3 separate regions of the Homo sapiens genome follow, and all the other regions are linked to region 1. Evidence: promoter capture Hi-C in 16 types of primary human blood cells and fetal thymus (Javierre and others, 2016). All regions are on one chromosome and are shown on one strand. Each heading gives the region's core, a stretch centred on a gene start or on the middle of the fragment in contact. The rest is flanking DNA. Distances are from core to core; before and after follow the strand shown.

What was found. Contacts are between HindIII fragments. The CHiCAGO score rates a contact against its expected background, and 5 or more counts as called.
Region 2: a contact is called between a fragment that was not itself captured here and the fragment with the promoter of ARFIP2 in region 1, in 1 of 17 cell types (activated CD4 T cells). The highest score is 5.3, in activated CD4 T cells.
Region 3: a contact is called between a fragment that was not itself captured here and the fragment with the promoter of ARFIP2 in region 1, in 1 of 17 cell types (fetal thymus). The highest score is 5.3, in fetal thymus.

Annotation. Positions count from the first base shown.
Region 1 is chr11:6,478,862-6,483,648 of GRCh38, reverse strand. It overlaps ARFIP2 (ARF interacting protein 2), which reads left to right and starts at 2,318. Exons shown (of 8, transcript NM_001376558.2): 1 at 2,318-2,418; 2 at 3,186-3,326; 3 at 3,581-3,677; 4 at 4,391-4,509; 5 at 4,690-4,787. The coding sequence starts at 3,228. TIMM10B (translocase of inner mitochondrial membrane 10B) reads right to left here and starts at 2,148. Exons shown (of 3, transcript NM_012192.4): 1 at 2,094-2,148; 2 at 1,797-1,892; 3 at 1-1,604. The coding sequence starts at 2,132. The coding sequence ends at 1,428. RefSeq lists enhancers at 2,040-2,089, 2,570-2,689, 1,526-2,725. The HindIII fragment of the contact is 2,521 bases long and covers 1,241-3,761 here.
Region 2 is chr11:9,455,785-9,460,571 of GRCh38, reverse strand. ZNF143-AS1 (ZNF143 antisense RNA 1) reads left to right here. Exons shown (of 1, transcript NR_036539.1): 1 at 1-1,016. Among named protein-coding and RNA genes, the nearest start is that of ZNF143-AS1, 2.5 kb to the left of the region's middle. RefSeq lists enhancers at 1-26, 87-186, 277-356, 556-1,191. The HindIII fragment of the contact is 1,232 bases long and covers 976-2,207 here.
Region 3 is chr11:8,673,120-8,677,615 of GRCh38, reverse strand. It overlaps TRIM66 (tripartite motif containing 66), which reads left to right. Exons shown (of 25, transcript NM_001388022.1): 4 at 2,733-2,810. Among named protein-coding and RNA genes, the nearest start is that of TRIM66, 7.3 kb to the left of the region's middle. The HindIII fragment of the contact is 5,452 bases long and covers 1-4,496 here.

The DNA.
Region 1 (4,787 bases), core at 1,069-3,568:
AAATAACTGCCATGGTAATTAGAGAAGGAAATGGACCAGGAACCCATAAAGGTGTGTGTTGGTGTGACTGCGTGTTGGTGTGAGGACTTGGCTGAGGTTGGAGGCCTTGAATATTTAGTGGCATTCATTACACAACTGTTTTTCTCTAGCAGTTTGAATGAAGGAATGGAAAAGACAGAATAAGTGGAATGATACAAAAAGATGGCCAATGGTGGCAAGAAAATGGGGTGATGGAATGATATGCTATCCAGGCTGCTGAATACAGAAGTAAATTACACAAAGTTGGGGGGCGGGGGAGGCAATAATGAGAAAAGAATGGAGAGGCTGGAATTAGAAATCACAGAATGTACTCAATGGGACCAATGTGGGGCAGATGATAGAAAGCTGGATTTAGGAGTTTCTAGACGAGCAGTGAAACATTAACGTAGCATTAAAGAAGTCCCGAAGATTTAGTTTTATCCCTTTTTATCATAACCATTGCCATCTACTTCTCCCTTCAGTTTCTCTTCCTCGGATTTGGCTGCATTGCAGAATATGGTCCCCAGCTCTCTCCCTTCCTGATTGCCCGTGAAGACAACCACACAGACCTTTGTTCAAAGGTTTTACTGCTCATCCTGAGAAGACTGTACATACTAAGAAAGTAACAACCTGGGGAAATGGCTGAAGTTCCAAAAGACTCCAGACTTCTTACAGGTTTCATCTCTCTTCTGTGGCCACTAACTTCCCAAGGAGGCAGTGCCCAAAAGCCCTGTGGTTTTTTGATCCGTTGTACTTCGATAGCTCCTCCTTTCCCTAGATCCAGCAGAACTCTAGACATGTAAGACATAGTTCACAAAACAACAGTTATGAACCAACAAATACTTGGCTCACGGTTATGAGCCACTGAAGTCAGTCAGACTTAAGGACAACTAGACAGAGCTCCCATTTTCTGTCATCTGGGCAGGAACCAATCTCCTGTTGTATAAAATGACCTTCTGGTACTTTCTGGAATCTTGCTTCCTCATCTGTTAAGTGAGGCTAATACCGCTTACTCATAGTTTTGTTGTGAAGATGAACTAAGAGCATGACATATTACCCGTTTTAAAATTGTACACACAGACCCTGCTTTAACCAGATGCCTGCAAATGCTCAGGTTTTCCTTCTACATATAGAAAACAATTTCTCAGCTGCCAGGGCTGAAGCCAGCAGATATGCACTAAACGACAGAACAACGGATTGTGCCAATAAAGTAGGCAAAGCTTCCTTGCCCAGAATATAAATCAAACTGAGTAAAAACTGGGTATATTGGCTCCAGGAAAAGGAGCAAGGACACCCAGCTTTCAGGCAACCTCGAATTCTCTCTGTTTAGGATTCACCAACCCCAAGGTCCACCGGGTCCTTCAATCTGAGGGTCCATCCAAGGCCTTCCTTCCTGGGGTTGGGTATGGCTAGCTGCCTGATGGAGAGACCCCAGGCTGTTCAGCAGCAACGCCTGGCACAGCCGAGGCAGCCTCGTAGTCTGCGATGCGGCGCTGTACCAGGGCAGGCATGAGCTGCACGTAAGCGGCCATGAGGCGGTGGTTGGAATGGATCAGCTTCCCAGCACAGCTGTGCAGACAGGCCTCCTAGAAGGAAGATAGGGTTTAAGTGGAGGATAAAGGTGCCCTGTCGGGTCCGCCTCCTTTCTTCCCCATGCCCAGCCTAGGGGTGAGGGTCGTGGGAAGGCCAGGGCCAGAGGTACGGGAAGTGGGGTGAGGAGGGAAGCAGTCTACCGCTAAACTCTTCTTGCAGCGTAACCTCCCTACACAGTTCCCCACCTCCTCAGCGTCCAGAGCTCGGTGGTGCAAGCTGGGCACACAGCGCTGGAAGCAGAGTTCTGTCATCCGATTGTAGACCAACAGGAAGTCACGCAGCTGAGAGAAAAGGGGGACCACAAACTCAGCGATAAGGGCCCCACACTTCTAGTCAAGGTCGCGCCGCCCAAAGTTTCCCAGGCCCGCGCGCCATAGCCCGAAGTTTCCAGCCCTCAAATCCCTGGCCCTGTGGGGTTCCCGCGATGTGTGCAGGAATGCGAGCTGAACGTCTGGCCTCGAAACGACTTAGTTCTCACTTACGTTTCGCAGTTGCTGTTGCTGCTGCTGCTGCCGCTCCATCACGCCACCGGCGCATGCCGTACGCCACTTCCGTTTCAGCTTCTCGGTGCCGCCCCGGAAGTAACCTCTCGCTGATCTCGAGAGCTAGCTCGAGTATCGCCCTGCCCTGGCTGCGACGTCAGCTCCGCCCTTATAATCTGCGACGTGGCCGGCTTCTTCTGCCCGGAGAGGACGTCATTTCCGCCGAGTCCCTGACCTGCTGCTAGGATCGCGACGGGAACTGGAGCCCGAGGTCCCCGCGCGGCCCGGGCCTGGCGCCCTGAGGGGAAGAGCGGCCCGGCCCGAGGTGAGAGGAACATGCTTGGGCGACGGGAAGTTGAACGCACAAACCTGTCCAGAGGGCAAGATGCCCCGAGCCCCGGGGAAGGATGAGGACACACCTGATGTCCAGGTGTATGGGGGTGGGGGCGGGGACTCACACACCTGGGAGACATAACTGACTGTGGAAGGGTCACCGATATCCTGGGAGAGAGAGGCTTTTACCAGAGACTGGGAACATACACCCACTGATCTAACTAAGGCCTGGTGGGGAGGGCCCGAGGAAGACGAGGTGTATGAGACGGAGGAGGGGAGACCCCCTGAAGGAAGGGGGAAGAAACGCTAAAGGAATGTGAAAGGCCAAGCAATGGAGAACAAACCTGAATAGGGGGGTGAAGACCTGAGCCCTGGAAAGGGTTCATCTCCTCAGCATAAACACGCCTGCATGGAGATAAGTTCTAAGAGAGCAGACTTTCCCTCTTCACTGTTGTATTTTCATTGTCACAAATAGTGCCTGACACATAGTAGGCACTCACTAAATGTCTGCTGAATGAGTGTAGAAATAATCACCAGAGTCCTGGTGAGGTTGGGGGCTTGTGAGAAGACACCGTGCTTTGGTGTGCCTGTTTCAAATGTGCGTTTTGGAGGGGAGAAATACATATATCTGAAGAAAGGAATGATGGCCAAACGCTGGGACACTCAAACCCTGGGACAGCCTTTAAAGAAATGACAGAGGAGGCCTCCTTCTTCTAGAGTGCTGGCCAGTGTCCAGAACTTCTGTGTTGGGCTTTGCAGGGTGCTGGGGTGGAGAGTTTTACTCCAATACCTTTCCTAGCCATGACGGACGGGATCCTAGGGAAGGCAGCCACAATGGAGATCCCTATCCACGGGAACGGCGAAGCCAGGCAGCTTCCTGAAGATGATGGGCTGGAGCAGGTGCTTCTGTTTGATTCTTCTAATTGTTTCAATTTAGGAATCCAATTTATAAATCCTAGGTTCTCACCCTCCATTCCAGTAGCCTTCCCCTGACTTATCTGACTCCCTTCATTCTTTTTACGTATCATTTTGATTCTGTGCAGACTTCCCTTGTGTACTATCTTTATGATGCTTGAATCCAAACTTGTTCCCACCTCCAAAATGCTTCTGCAGCCCCTATGTTCCTGAAGCAACCCCTCTTCTCTGGCCTATAGGACCTCCAGCAGGTGATGGTGTCAGGACCCAACCTCAATGAAACCAGCATTGTGTCTGGTGGCTATGGGGGCTCTGGTGATGGACTCATCCCCACAGGTATGAATGTTCAGAAACAGGAATCTTGGGTGGAGGAGGGGACAGGAATGGTTTGGGGAAGCATAGGATATGTCTAGGAAAGCTTGAATTATGTCTGGAGATCTTGGGAACTTCTGCTTGTAGGAACCTCATGGACTCTCCTCAGCCCAAAAGCAACTCCCAGCGTTGTCCATCCATTTCCCTTTTGCCACTTAGCCCCTGAAATGGCTCATTTGTCCTTTCCCTGCCACCACCTGAGTCAAGTTAAGACCTGCTTCACAGGAATGCCCCCCCTCTACAGCTTGAGGCTGAGTTGGAACTTTGTGAAGCTTCTCAGAATTTTTAGATTCTAAAGTTTAGAGGAACAAACAGCCCTGAATCTCACACTAAGATTCCACATGGGAATGCAACCAGGTTTCTTGTTATCATGACCCACCATCCTTGACTCCTGCTGCCCCCAAACTCAGTGTATTTTCTTCTGTTTCCTCTGCCCCTGTACACCAACAACTCCCTGCAAACCCCTCCTCTAACCCCCAAGGAGGCCATATGTATATCAGGATTTGGTTCTCACCGCGCAAAGTCCGAGTTCCTCCTAGTAAGCAGGAGCATCCAGTTGTCTCTAGCATCTCCTTCAGGGAAGTCAATTTCATGTGCTCGAAGAGAAGTATGGGTGGGGCCACAGAGGTGTCTGGTGTATCTGAGAGAGGCTGGTGTCAGAGAACTTGATCCTTTAGGGTCTGGCCGCCATCCATCTCACAGCACCACTCCTTCTGGCCCTGGAGATGAGGTGGCTCGGGGCATTGCTGGAGAAAAGTTTGACATCGTCAAGAAATGGGGCATCAACACCTATAAGGTAGGATTTAAGCACCTCTCCCTTCCCCAAAACTCCTTATGGGTACCTTTTTCCCTTTTCTTCGTGATCGTAATATCCCATCTGTGGCTGAGAGTAGGAGCCTGGGGGGTGCTGGGGTAGATACCTGTTGTGTGGGGAGGCTGTTAGGGTCTCTGATTTATTCCCCCATTTCCCAATCAGTGCACAAAGCAACTGTTATCAGAACGATTTGGTCGAGGCTCACGGACTGTGGACCTGGAGCTAGAGCTGCAGATTGAGTTGCTGCGTGAGACGAAGCG
Region 2 (4,787 bases), core at 342-2,841, 3.0 Mb before region 1:
CGGAGTGCGTTCTGCAGACCAGAAGGGCTTTGTCTGGCGATTGCTGAATGCTCAATAGCAGCCTGCTGGGAGGGAAGTCGAAGGGAGAAATAGGACAGAAAGAGAGACCTGACCTCTCCCTGGAGGCTCTCAGTGTCGGCCGAGGCCCTTGGTCTTGCTCTAGGGCTCTGCATTCCCGAGAGCTGCTGTATGCCGGGGATTGGCTTCCAAGCCTGCCTGAGCTTCTCCAGTCTCCCGGGCATCGCCATGCGGTGGGAGGGTGAGCCTTCCTCTCCTGCTGAAATTCCGGCGGCTTGGCAACCGGCCGGGGGGTCTTGGATTCCTCGGGGAGACACCACTGATGCTTTGTGGTTTCACGTAATTTGGATTTAAAAGTTGAAGGCGTCAGAAATGGTTGTCGCTACGGTCTTTTGTATGTTCTTGTGTTGCGAACTAATAAAGGAAAGTCAAAAGGGTGGGAGAAGCATTCAGTCTGGTTCCCTAAAGTTACTAAGAATGGATACAAATTAGTTGTGGCCGTTGCGGTTAATGCTTCTTGTAGCTCTTAACCCAGCCCTTTCTAAACCTTTGGATATACTTACTAGTCAGTTCCGAAGGTACTCAGTACAAATTTGCGTTGGCGCACCAGGCCGACTAAAGATGAGGTGGGTGTATTAGACTCAAAATTTCTTAAGTCGGCCAGGGGGTAGAATTGAGCTACCAAGAGAATGAGAGACTACCCTGTTGTAACAGATTTGGATCGCGCTTAGAAAAACAGGGAGAAAGCTGGATGATGTTCAACTTAATGTCTTGCATTTCAGACGATTATCGAATGGACGGGGATAAATAAAAACGATGTTACAGATAGCCCTCTAAGTGTGGATAGTAAATATTTTGATTTACAATTAAGCCTACCTTGAGGTGCAGGCCCTAACCAACGGATAGTTGAGTAATAGGGGCCTAGACGCCAATGGAAAGAAAATGGGACTTTAAGCTTTGTTTGAACATATATTCTGTTAATAAAGAAGTTTAAATCAGTTCGGATTACTGTTTTTTGTTTGTTTGTTTGTTTTTTGAGACGGAGTCTCGCCCTGTAGCCCAGACTGCAATGCAGTGGCACGATCTCAGCTCACTGCAACCTCCGCCTCCCAGGTTCAAGCGATTTCTCCTGCCTCAACCTCCTGAGTAGCTGGGACTACAGGCGCCCACCATCACGCCCGGCTAATTTTTCTGTTTTTAGTAGAGACGGGGTTTCACCATGTTGGCCAGGCTGGTCTGAAACTCCTGACCGCGTAATCCGCCCACCTCAGCCTACCAAAGTACTGGGATTACAGGCGTGAGCCACCGCGCCCGGCCCGGATTACTTTTTAAGCCCTTAAAATAAAAGTGTCACATATAAAAAATGGATTAGGTGGCCGGGCGCGGAGGCTCACGCCTGTAATCCCAGCACTTTGGGAGGCCAAGGCGGGCAGATCATGAGGTCAGGAGATCGAGACCATCCTGGCTAACGCGGTGAAACCCCGTCTCTACTAAAAATACAAAAAATTTAGCAGGCGTGGTGGCGGGCGCCTGTAGTCCCAGCTACTCGGGAGAATGAGGCAGGAAAATGGCGTGAACCCGGGAGGCGGAGCTTGCAGTGAGCTGAGATTGCGCCACTGCACTCCAGGCTGGGCAACAGAGCAAGATTCCGTCTCAAAAAAAAAAAAAAAAAAAAAAAAAAAAGGATTAGGTTACTTTTAACTGGAGGATTTTGCTCAGTTAAAATCAGTCTCCTACCCAATGGATACATTCTCTGTTACAAAGAAGTAGCCCAGCTGAAAAACAAATGGTTTTAATTTATAATTTCTGTTCCCTCCACATGTATCTGTGTTTTGTAATTGGAGGTGTTTTTTAACCCATCAGAATATTTTTATGCAGTTCCACTAAGTCCCATGCCTGTAGGCTACTCATTAAAACACTATAATACAGAATCTCAAGAATTTTTAAATCGCCCTCTTATTGTAGATAACAATTACAGGACATCTTTGTATCCCCAGAAGCTACTGAGTTGTTCTAAAAATTGAATGGCGATGATGGTGGCGGTGGATAGGATGCTATAATTGTAACTGGATTCAGAGAGAAACCTAATTCTGATTTGTCACAGGTAATGGAACGTTGTGTTAACAGTATTTACCAGTGACTATAGAACAGAGTTCAAATGTACATATATTCAGAGCCATTCATAAGCTTAAAATGTTATCCCATTCATCTCCCTTCCCTTATATCGTGTTATATCCGGTCAAATTAATGGCTTGAAAATGTTTCCCTGTCAATCAGTACTAGTCCAGGCTCTTAAATGCAGAAATTAAATAATTTCCCCAACTTCCTAAACAAGAGGTAACTTATTTGTAGCCCCCTTCAAAAACTGTTAAGATAATATTTTCTAAAACACTTCTTTCAGTAACTTAAAACTTACTGGAGAATTGGTTGGTTTTGGCATATTTATACCATGCTATAAGCATTAAAGTAGTATATATGTATACTATATATATATAGAAATTATATATGATATATATGTATACTATATATATAGAAATTATATATGATATATATAGAAAAAAGATAAACGATGAGTTAAGCTTAAAAGCAATTATTTCAGGCCGGGCGCGGTGGCTCACACCTGCAATCCTAGCACTTTGGGAAGCCGAGGCAGGCGGATCACGAGGTCAGGAGTTCGAGCCATGGTGAAACCCCGTCTCTACTAAAAATACAAAAATTAGCCCGGCGTGGTGGTGGGCGCCTGTAATCCCAGCTACTCAGCAGGCTGAGGCAGGAGAATGGCTTGAACCCCGGAGGCGGAGGTTGCAGTGAGCCAGGGTCACACCACTCCACTCCAGCCTGGGTGACAGAGTGAGAATCCATCTAAAAAAAAAAAAAGGCCGGGTGCGGTGGTTCACACCTGTAATCCCAGCACTTTGGGAGGCCGAGGAGGGTGGACCACCTGAAGTCAGGAGTTCGAGACCAACCAGGCCAACATGGCGAAATCGCATCTCTACTAAAAGTACAAAAATTAGGCTGGGCACGGTGGCTCACACTTGTAATCCCACCACTTTGGGAGGACGAGGCGGGCGGATCACAAGGTCAGGAGATCAAGACTATCCTGGCTAACACGGTGAAAACCCGTCTCTACTAAAAATACAAAAAATTGGCCGGGCACAGTGGCTCACGCCTGTAATCCCAGCACTTTGGGAGGCGGAAGTGGGCAGATCGCCTGAGGTCGGGAGTTTGAGACCAGCCTAGCCAGCATGGTGAAACGCCGTCTCTACTAAAAATGCAAAAATTAGCCGGGCATGGTGGCAGGTGCCTGTAATCCCAGCTACTTGGGAAGCTGAGGCAGGAGAATCGCTTGAACCCGGGAGGCGGAGGTTGCAGTGAGCCGAGATCGTGCCGTTGCACTCCAGCCTGGGCAACAGAGCAAGACTTTGTCCCAAAAAAGCAAACAAAAAGATAAATAAATAATAAAAATACAAAAAATTATCTGGGCGTGGTGGCATGCGCCTACAGTCCCAGCTACTCAGGAGGCTGAGGCAGGAGAATCCCTTGAACCTGGAAGGCAGAGGTTGCAGTGAGCCGAGATCGCACCACTGCACTCCCGCCTGGGTGACAGAGCGAGCCTCCATCTCAAAAAAGCAAAAAACAAAAATTAGCCGGCCATAGTGGTGGGTGCCTGTAATCCCAACTGCTCGGGAGGCTGAGTCAGGATAATAGCTTGATCCTGCGGGGCGGAGGTTGCCATGAGCCAAAATCGTGCCACTTCACTCCAGGTTGGGCGCAAGAGCGAGACTCTGTCTCAAAAAAAAAAAAAAAGTTTCATGCCGGGCGCCGTGGCCCACGCCTGTAATCCCAGCACTTTGGGAGGCAGAGGCGGGCGGATCACGAGGTCAAGAGATCCAGACCATCCTGGCTAACGCGGTGAAACCCCGTCTTTACTAAAAATTAAAAAAAAAAGTTAGCCGGGCGTGGTGGCGGGCGCCTATACTCCCAGCTACCCGGGAGGCTGAGGCAGGAGAATGACGTGAACCCGGGAGGAGCTTGCAGTGAGCCAAGATCGCGCCACTGCACTCCAGCCTGGGCGACAGAGGGAGACTCTGTCTCAAAAATAAATAAATAAATAAATAAATAAATAAATAAATAAATAAATAAATAAAATAAAAAAGAAACCTGTGAAAATAATTTTTTGAGATATAATTTGTTTATCATAAAATTCACCATTTTATACACTTGAGTATATATCTATATATATATACTCAGGTTGTGCAGACATCACCACTATCTAATCCAAAATATTTTATCACCCCTGTAAGAAACCCCATACTCATTAGCAGTCACTTCCATTCCTTCTTTCCCCCAGCTTCTGGCAACCATGACTAACTTTCTGCCCTTTTGGACTTATCTATTCTGGACATTACATTTTAATGGAATCTTTTTTGTCTGACTTCATTATAGCACAATGTTTTCAAGCCTCATCCAGGTTGTAGGGTGTTAACAGTACTTAATTCCCTTTTATTGCCAAATATTTGGTTGTGTATATACCCGATTTGTTTATCGATTTATAGATATTTGGGTTGTTTCCACCTTTTGGCTATTATCAATAATACTACTATGAACATTTGTGTGTAAGTATTTTTTGCCGACCTTGTGTTTCATTTCTTTTGGTATATATACCTAGGAGTGGAATTGCTGGGTCATGTCTACGTAAAACAATATTTTCAACCTTTTGAGAAACTGCCAAACTTCCACAACAAATAAGCATTTTACATCCCATCAGC
Region 3 (4,496 bases), core at 1,263-3,762, 2.2 Mb before region 1:
TTTAAAGATAAGGTCTTGTATGTTGCCCAGGCTGGTCTCAAACTGCTAGCCTCAAGCAGCCCTCCTACCTCGCCCTCCCAAAGCACTGGGATTACAGGCATGACCATCACGCCCAGCCTCCTAGTTCTGTTTTTACTCACTGAATTATATTGAACAAATAGCATGTTCTCTTTGAATCTGTTTTCTTGTCTGTATAATGAAAAAATAATGAGATTCATTCATTCGTTTTATAAATATTAATTGAGTGTGTACTATGTTCCTATGCTAGGTGCCAGGCAAGTGAGGGGCAGGTACAATTGTGAACAAAAGTCCTTCCCTAAGACTATGTCTAAGACATACATTAAACAAGCAAACAAATAATATATCACATATAACACAGCCTAGCAAAGAGTAGGTACTCTCATTACCTACTATTTCTCGCTCACATTTTCTCCCTAAAATGAGTGTTATTTTTATGATAATTTGTTCTGTACCCTTCATGCAAACAATCTTTGAAATTCTTATTCCCAATGTGATGTGGAATGACTTGTTCCATCATTCCTTAGCAAGGTTAAGGTACTCCAGTAAATATTTTCCTTTTCTTAGATATAGATGTGGTAAGATGTTAAAAGGAGGTGGTTTGTGGCAAGGCAATGTTTTAAAATTTAACTTTTTGTTAACATTTTAAAATGTAAATAAAAATAATTTCCTGGGTTTTGGAAAACTAAGATTTGGAGACATTAGACCCACATTCTTTTAAGTAAAGCACTTCGTTCATATAGATTGCCCAGCCCCTGTAGGCATTTGAATTTACTACCTTGGCTTAAGTACAGTCTTGCAAACTCTGTCCCCTACACTCTTCTAGGTCAGGGGAGATAAGAAGGAGAGGGAAGAACTAAGTTATGATGAAAGCAGCCATAAGAAGGGGGCAGAAATGGGGTCATTTGACCCTTCGTCTTCTCAAATCAGAAACTCATTGTGTGGCTGTGCCTTTAAATTAACCATTTACTTTCATGGAGTTACTTCAATTGCTCTTCTAAGACATAAATGAGATGCCTGTTTCTTTATATTCTTACCCTGTGTAGTACTTGCTGGTGGTGGAAAGCCATGCTACCTCCCTGAATTCCCAGGATTGTGATGCAAGGTCTAATGCAGTAGTTCTCCAAGTGTGGTCTGTAGACCTTATGGGGTGGGGGGTCCCTGAGACCGTTTCAGGGAGTTCACAGGTCAAACAATTTTAATAATAAAGCTAACGTGTTATTTGATCTTTTCACTGGGTTGACATTTGCACTGATGGTGCCAAAGCAATGTTATGTAAAACTGCTGATGTTTTGGGCACCAAACTGGAACAAAACCTTATATTCTTTACCACTAAGCATCTGCCGGTTAAAAAAAAAAAAAAGAAGTTTACCTTAAGAATGTCCATCCATGATGAAGTGGTAACAATTTTTATTAAATCTCAATCCTGAAATTCTTAAGTACTTTTTTAGATTTCTTTTTGATGTTCTGTGTGAAGAAAAAGTATTCCTACTACATATCAAAGTGAGAAACTGTGCTTGTGCTATTGAGTTGCAAGTTAAACTAGCCTTTTAAAAAATGAAACATAATGGACGATGTGGTGGCTCACGCCTGTAATCTTTGGGAAGCTGAGGCGGGTGGATCACGAGGTCTGGAGATTGAGACCATCCTGGCCAACATGGTGAAACCCCGTCTCTACTAAAAATACAAAAATTAGCTGGGCGTAGTGGTGCATGCCTGTAATCCCAGCTACTTGAGAGGCTGAGGCAGGAGAATCGCTTGAACCAGGGAGTCGGAGGTTGCAGTGAATCAAGATCACGCCACTGCACTCCAGCCTGACGACAGAGCGAGACTCTCTCAAAAATTAATAAATAAATAAATAATAATTAAAAAAATAAAAAGTGAAACATCAGTATTACACGAAAGGACAACTGGCAGGCCGGGTGCGATGGCTCATGCCTGTAATCCCAGCACTTTGGGAGGCCAAGGCAGGTGGATCATCTGAGGTCGGGAGTTTGAGATCACCCTAACCAACATGGAGAAACCCTGTCTCTACTAAAAATACAAAATTAGCTGGGTGTGGTGGTGCATGCTTGTAATCCCAGCTGCTCGGGAGGCTGAGGCAGGAGAATCACTTGAACCTGGGAGGTGGAGGTTTCTATGAGCCAAGATCACGCCATTGTACTCCAGCCTGGTTAACAAGGGCAAAACTGCATCTAAAAAAAGAATAACTGGCAGACAAACTGTGGTTATTCAGGCTTGGGAATTTGTCCGATATTTTCTCAAAAGTGAATTGACAGTATTTGTTGCCAATGATAAAATTCAAGCGTTCAAGCAAAAGTTAGAATTCTGGTAGTTTTTGCTGCCTCCATGAATTTGGCAGCTTCTCAATGCTTAAAAGAATTTTCTGATGAGATTCGAGGTGATTCTAAAGAATGTGATTTTTTGTTATTGTGTAATGAAATGTGTCGATATTTGGAACATCTGCATAAGTCATTGAACTGGTATTTTCCAAATGACCAATGCTTGGTGTTAAAAAACTGTGCCTGGGGAAAAGACTAGTTCAAAGAGCAAGATCAGCAGATTTTAATATAACAGAATAAGAAAAGTTTGGTTCAGAGTCTACCTTATAAATAACATTTAAGAAACTACTACCACTGTTGAATTTTGGTGTGGTATCAAAGAATATCCACAATTACCTGATAAGGCTATTAAAGTACTCCTATCTTTTCCAGCTGTATGTCTGTGTGAGACTGGATTTTCCTCATATACTGTGAACAAAACAACATATAACAGATTGACTGCAGAAACAGGTATGGGAGTCCAGCCGTCTTTTATTAAGCCAGATGTTAAAGGGTTTGGCACATATGAGAAACAATGTGACTCTTCTCATTAAATTAATTTTTTTGAAAGTAGTTGATTTTTTTTTTTTAGGCTGGGTGCAGTGGCTCACGCCTATAATCCCAGCACTTCGGGCGGCCAAAATGGAGGATCGCTTGAGTCCAGGAATTTGAGACCAGCTTGGGCTACATAGCAAGACCTGGTCTCTACAAAAATAAAAATGAAAATAAAATAGTCGGGTGTGGTGGCACATGCCTATAGTGCTAGCTGCCTAGGAGGCTGAAGCAAGAAGTTTGGTTGAGCTCAGAAGTTTGAGGCTGCAGTGAACTTCGCACGACTGCCCTCCAGCCTAGGCAACAGAGCAAGACCCTGTCTCAAAAAATAAATAAATAAATAAATGGAAAAAAGGAAATAGTTATTTTTTCCAAAAAGTATGTTATTCGTGTTAACATATAACAAGTTTATTATTTTATGAAAATTAATGTTTTAAAATTTTCTCAGCTTTAACTTCTAATGTGGTAAATAGCAATAGATTTTCTCAGCTTTAACTTCTAGTGTGGTAAATAGCAATAGTTCACATAAATGAACTCTCTTTGGGGTCTTCAATGAGTAAACATATGTAAAGGGATTCCCAAGACCAAAAAGTTTGAGAACTACTGGCCCAGTGAAATAAACTCAGGCATGCTTGAACCTTCTAATAGAGACTGTCCTCGTCTCTAATCATGCTGCTGCTATGGCTGTTTTCTGCTAAATAATGCCCAGAAGGAATTAGAAGTGCAGGTCTATCTATAGCTTTATGTAGTGGCATCTTTCTGGACCCCAGGCAGCCTGGCCTCTCCCAGCCCCATCACCCTTCCTCCTTCCTGAAGGCTTGGCTCCTAAAGACTTCAGACTGGAGTGAAATTTTTCTCAAACTTGCATAATTACCAAGACCCAGATTTGAATTAAATGATTTGTATTTTGTTTCTTAAATAAGTACAAATATAAAACTAGCTACAACTTCCTTTGGCTTTTAGCTGTTATACAACTATAAAACTGAATATAGTTTACAAATTGTAAAAAACTACAAAGCCATCAAATTAATAATATTAATTTCACATGTATGTGATGTTTTTCTAAACTAAACTATCATTATGACTTAAATGTGGTGCTCACTCTTGTAGCTAAGTTCAGCAAACATATGCCACAATGATGATGGCTCAGTTTTCCCACTTCCTTTCTCTGTTCCAAGTACTGTAAAACATGCATCATTTTGTGCCACAATGTTGTTTAGACTTCAAGTGGCAAGAATACATTATTTGTGTATTAAGTCTGCCCCTCTCTCAGCTCATTAACCTGAGACAAGTAATACTGCCTAGTGTGTACTAAATCCTAGACTCTTAACACTACCCCCAAAATCATATTGTGGTAGATATGTAGATAATCCAGACTATACTTTTTAAAACTTTATTATCACAATGAAACACTAATTTTAAAAAATTAGTGGACAGAACTCATGAAAATATGTGTGTGGACCTCAGCTTAAGAACATTTCACTAATTAAGAGTGTGGGCCGGGCTCGGTGGCTCATGCCTGTAATCCCAGCACTTTGGGAGGCCGAGGCGGGTGGATCATGAGGTCAGGAGATCGAGACCACGGTGAAACCCCGTCTCTACTAA